Linked DNA regions of Homo sapiens: region 1 is linked to region 2. The links are contacts of gene promoters, found by promoter capture Hi-C in blood cells and fetal thymus (Javierre and others, 2016). All regions are on one chromosome and are shown on one strand. Each heading gives the region's core, a stretch centred on a gene start or on the middle of the fragment in contact. The rest is flanking DNA. Distances are from core to core; before and after follow the strand shown.

Region 1 (2,700 bases), core at 145-2,644, 1.2 Mb before region 2:
AAATGACACATAATGCCATCTGTTGGTTACTTTGTTATACTTTTGCTTTAGGTTAGGACATCCTTTTGCACTTTGGAACTATGAAACTTCAAATAAAGTAAGCAGAGATACTTCAGTGATATACCATTTTTAATTTTTTTAAAGATTTTTTAATTTATACCTACTCTTCTTCAACTATCAATTTATCTGTATGGATATGAAAGGAAACACAACAAAGCATGAGCATGGTTAGGAAGGAGAAATGTAGGGGAAGAGAAGAAGGAAACCATTTTTATCTTAAACAAATATATATTAATTTTTTATTTATAAAATACTAATTTCATTACTCAAAAAATTTAAAAGGTTACCTCAAAATGCTATAATTTATCTTTAACTCTATCAATATGGTCATTGATTTCAGAGGAATTTTCTGTAAATTCTTTGATTTTAAGGGTCATGCTGCTATAAAGCTTTTGTGTTTTTATTGCTTTATTCACATATTTGTGGGGCTGACCAGCGTTATATTTAGAAGAAATGGAATCTGGATTTGTTCTTAAGCTGACATATTTAGATTCATGCTGCTAAAATGAAATACAATTTACTGAAAAATGTTTTCTTACTCAATAGGAATGGCCAAATCCACTAAAAAGAAGAGAAAATAAAGACATATTTCATTTTTATGCTACAGTATTTCATGGCTACACTCTCACTAGAGTGAAATATGATTCTTTAGAGAAATCTAAAAAAATCTACAATAATGTTTCTAGGATTTTTATTCACTTTCTGTTTGGTAGCCATGAGGTGCCTGACCTTCTTTTGACTAAATGCTGAAGCCCATAGTTTATAAAATCCTACAAACACATCTGTAATTCAAAGCAATCCATTAAAATGGATATTTCCCCCAAATGGAAAAACCATGAGGAGGTCCTCATCCCTCCTTTGAGGATGGAGGCAGGAGTTAATGCTGTTTTCTAAAGTCATACTGTAGGTCAGAGGTTAGCTTTTCACCTGCGTAACTCTGGAGGTCAGATCTCAGGACATAGGGTGAATGTTCTAGTGCAGCAGATTTCAAGGTGGTGTTGAAGTGCTTTCTGGCATCTAGTCCAATAACCAAGGACTAATATACAGTGAGAGAATTAACACAAGAAACCACATCAATGTTTGAAGATTTTCCTTTCTTGTCTCCTTTTTAGCTAAAGAACTTTAATTAAATAATCTTGCTTTTAATTCTCGTTTGGTTGCTTTCTAAATATGTGACTTTAAATGAGTCACTTAACCTCTCTGAAGCTGTATTCACTGTCATTTGTTCAAGGGAATAACACTATCATCTTCACTGGTTTGGGGAAGATTAAAATACAGTAATATACACAAAATGTGTACTAGAGTTAGCGGCCAAATATGGGTGTTCTGCACAAGGGAGGCCTTGCTTGCTTGATGAAAGTATGTGCATTTGCATATCAGCAAACAGTTAACCCTTGGCTGCACTTTGGAGCCTGGCCCAAGTTTCATGTCCATTCCTGACCCATTTTTCATATCGGTATCCCAAAAGATACCATACTTATTTGTCCTCAAATATCGTTGCATATGAGAAGAGTCACCTAAGACTCTTGTGAAAAATGCAGATACCTAAACTCTACCTTAAAAATTCTGATTAGGAAGATCTGGGAAAGAACTCAGGAATTAAAATTTTAGCAACCATCCCCAGGTGAGTCTGAATCAGGGCCCATCAGACCCCATTCGAGAAACTCTGGCTTCATTTGTATAGGCAAATTTGATATTTGTATAACTCTTTGCTCTTTCCAAGAAACACCAACACTTTAAGTGAAATGAGGCTAACTGCATACAGGCTGTCTTAGGATGGTCATGCTGGTGTTCAAATAGGGATCCGTTTCTAAACAAATAAACTTCCATAAAATGGATATTCCCTAAGGAGTTATACTTCAGCAGATTAGCCATGATTCTCAGTTAAAACAGCATCACCCACTTTGTTCTATTTCTGTTAGGAATACACTAGGTTAGACCACGCTTTCAAAGGCCAATTCAATGCGTTTGAAATATGCTCCTATCTCTTTCACATAAAAATAAAATTGGTTAACCTTACTCCTACCTCCCTCTAAAGGTCATCTCCATCAAAATGATATCCTTCACCTCTCTGGTTTTCATTACTTTTGGGCTTTGATGGGTATAATTGGTCAGCGTGACTTCAAAGAGACTCAAATGATATTTCACCTCTGTCACTTGAGAGACTGACCTCTCCTTTTGCAGTAATGGGCTCTTTGTAACCTCCTCTGAGGTCACCTTAGTTGCTTAAATGTGGTCTAATTTCAAGCAGTTGTGTGGTATCTAATCACAGCACGCGGTAAGCTTGCCCTCTAGTGGCTGCCATTCATATTGCACTGCAGGAATTTGGTTCTACCTTCATTTACTTGGGGGCAGGGGTAATTTAAGTCAGAAATAAATCCATCCATATAAAAAAGTAGATATCTCTCTATTTCACAAAATATCCTTCATGTGATTTTTTTCTTAGTAACTATTTTTGATGAATTTAAATGAATAACATTTTAATAAAAATAAGCAGTTGTAAGTAATGCATTGTGTGTGTGTTTAGTGAAAGGCTAAACATTATATTTCTCATTATATAAATAGAAGAGAAAACAATTTGGAAGGAAAAGATAGAATTGCCCACGCTACATTGAAACTTTAGCATAGATGGATCATGAT
Region 2 (2,700 bases), core at 18-2,517:
TTCCCAGAGTAGCTAGTCCTCTAAAATGATGCTTTAATAGGCTTAACGGAAACAATCTCATTTACAGTGAGGCTTCCAAATGGTGAACACGGTAAAGAGCAAATCAGCAACATTAAGTGCACATTTGTTTGTGGGAAGGCATTAGGAAAGAGGTTTTTCTAAGTACAGTAATTCTAAAAATGTGTTTTCTTAGGGAACAATAGTAATATTTAGACTAATTGCAAATGTTAATATGTGCAATATAATTTCAGTCTCCATCCTACATATACATTTTTTTTTACCACCAGTACTCAAAATGTTTATTTGTACTTCTCAATTCCTATCAATGATTTCTAATGCTGGTGTATGAAAAGCATGCTTGAAATTGTTTGAAATAAAGGACTTAGGGACAGAGTGGAATGCTGGAAATCTGTAAAAGGACTGGAAACGCTGGAATGCTGGAAATCATGGTAGGCGCATAGCCAGTTATTTTCGTAGGCTTCTCTATCTCTAATTACTCAGCAGAGGTGGTTTTATTTTCCTTGACAGTCTGCTCTAGGAAGCAATCAGCCAACCAGTTTGCAATTGTAGGGTTTGTAAGAAATGAAAAACACTGCACCTGCAAGTGTTTTAGCATCTACCACTATTCGGCTTACTTACGTAACCTCCTTCCCAAGACCAAGTCAGTAGGATTGTTTTTAAAGCAACCTCTCCATTTCTAGGAGGGGCACAAAAGCTAGCAAATACCCCAACCCGAATACAAGCGAGGTTGTGGAGAAAGTAATGAAGGAGTTTGTGTGCAAACAGCGGGGAAAGGAGGTTCTGTTGAATTGTACCGTGTGTCCGTTCTCGTGCTGTACAGGCAATGAGTGTAGTCTGTGCGAACCGGGTGTGTGACGTTTGCTTTTCGGGTGTACGGGTCTCCGAATGCTGCTTCTGCTGTGCTCACCAAGGGAGCGCGTGTGCGGCGTGTGTCTGCGAAGCGGGCAGGTTGTGTTTAGTTGTGCTGTGCCTTGGAACAGTCCGTGTGAACAGAGGAGGGCTTACGGTTAACAGACAAAATACCGTAAGCGCCCTTCCTAGAGCCAGGCACAGAGACAACGGCGGCCTCTGGCGCCGGCACAAGGGACAGCGTGGCCCGGATCTCAGAGCCTGGGTCACTCCTCCTCCCCTCCAGCGACACAGCACTCCCCCAACCCTTCCGCCCACCTCCGCCGAGCCTCGGCTGCACTCACCTCTCTCCAGCCGCACGGGTTCCCCTAGCGCCGCCATCTTCTCCCTTAACCTACAGACCCACAGGAAATGACGACAGAAGGGCTGAGGTGGGGGGGCGGGGCCTAGGGGAAGCCGGAAAAGTGAGTACCGGCTAGTATCGCGAGATCAGGAAGGTGGCCGAGTGTGTCGCCGCGGCCATCAGGGTAAGGGTACCTGGACTTGCGGCTTTTTAGGTCGGCCTGGCTCCGCTCCTTCCGCGGTGACGAGGTCCCCCGGCCTCCTAGGGTTGGGAAGAGCTGCTTTCCTGACTCTCGTTCCCTGCCTCAGGCTTCCCTTATCCCAATCGCTTCGAACCCTTGGCTCAGCGTAGAGGAGTCAAGCCTGGATTCTAGTCCCACCTTGCCCATTAGCAGCTCTGTGACCTGGGACTGTTCACTTACCCTCTCTCAGCCTCAGTTTCCGCATCTGTACAACGAGAGGTCCTATCTCTTAGGTCCTTACAATTTTTAAACTCTGGGATTCGGTGGCAATTAAATGTGTAATGACATGTTGTCAGTTCTCAATTTGTGACAGCATTGCTTTAAATTTAAAAATCCACGGCTTGAATCTTCCCTCCAAATCTGTTAAGGGGTGGAAAGTACAAAGAGCATGAAACATATCTGGGTGAGGGAGAGAACAAGGTGCTTTGGTGCACCACAAAGTAACAATTTTATAAGCAGCTGATTCTTATAAAATCTTAAGTAAATGAAATATTGTGAAGCAAATAATATTCTTAATGCATTACAGATTTTTGAGCCACTTCTGAAATTTTCGCGAACCAAGAAGAATTTTAGTACTTGGATTTGACTAACATTTATCCAAGCCCTTAGTCTGTACTGATACTGTGGTAGGTGTGTTTACATCCAGCATTTCAACACTTCATGATGGGACTGTTTTAATAACCTGTTTGCCCCTGGTCCACCCTTTCCATTCACCTTTAGTATTTTCTTCTCCAAATCCATCATGGATGCCACCACTATGCTCCTTTTTCTCCCCTTGAATTCTGATTTCATCATCACAAGTTCTGTTCAGAAACTTTCAATGGTTTCTCTCCTGTTTCCTATTTCTAAAGCCTTGCATACTCTGACCCTAACTCATCCAACTAACTTCATTTCTCATTACCACTAAGTGCAACCACCACTTCAGTCCAGATAGTATAGTTTCAACCATATTTATTCCTGATTCCAAGTCTTTTTGTTTGTTTTAGAGACAGAGTTTCTCTCTGTTGTCCAGACTGGAGTGCAGTGGTGCAATCACAGCTCAAGAGAGCCTCCTGTCTCAGTCTTGCCAGTAGCGAGGACTACAGGCAAGCACCACCATGCCTGGCAAATTTTTAAATTTTTAGTAGAGATGGGGGTCTTGCTATGTTGCCCAGGCTGGTCTCAAACTCCTGAGCTCAAGCAGTCCTCCTGCTTTGGCCTCCCGAAGTGCTGGGATTACAGGCGTGGGCCACTGTGCCAGGCTCCA

The links. The method cuts DNA at HindIII sites, captures the fragments that hold promoters and counts their contacts. A CHiCAGO score of 5 or more calls a contact.
Region 1: a contact is called between a fragment that was not itself captured here and the fragment with the promoter of LIN7C in region 2, in 1 of 17 cell types (fetal thymus). The highest score is 6.6, in fetal thymus.

Annotation. Positions count from the first base shown.
Region 1 is chr11:26,274,669-26,277,368 of GRCh38, forward strand. It overlaps a transcript of ANO3 not described here. Among named protein-coding and RNA genes, the nearest start is that of ANO3-AS1, 12 kb to the right of the region's middle. The HindIII fragment of the contact is 1,894 bases long and covers 448-2,341 here.
Region 2 is chr11:27,505,502-27,508,201 of GRCh38, forward strand. It overlaps LIN7C (lin-7 cell polarity scaffold C), which reads right to left and starts at 1,268. Exons shown (of 5, transcript NM_018362.4): 1 at 1,215-1,268. The coding sequence starts at 1,251. It overlaps BDNF-AS (BDNF antisense RNA), which reads left to right and starts at 1,351. Exons shown (of 7, transcript NR_033315.1): 1 at 1,351-1,397. RefSeq lists enhancers at 829-2,028, 1,185-1,314, 1,385-1,674. The HindIII fragment of the contact is 9,378 bases long and covers 1-2,700 here.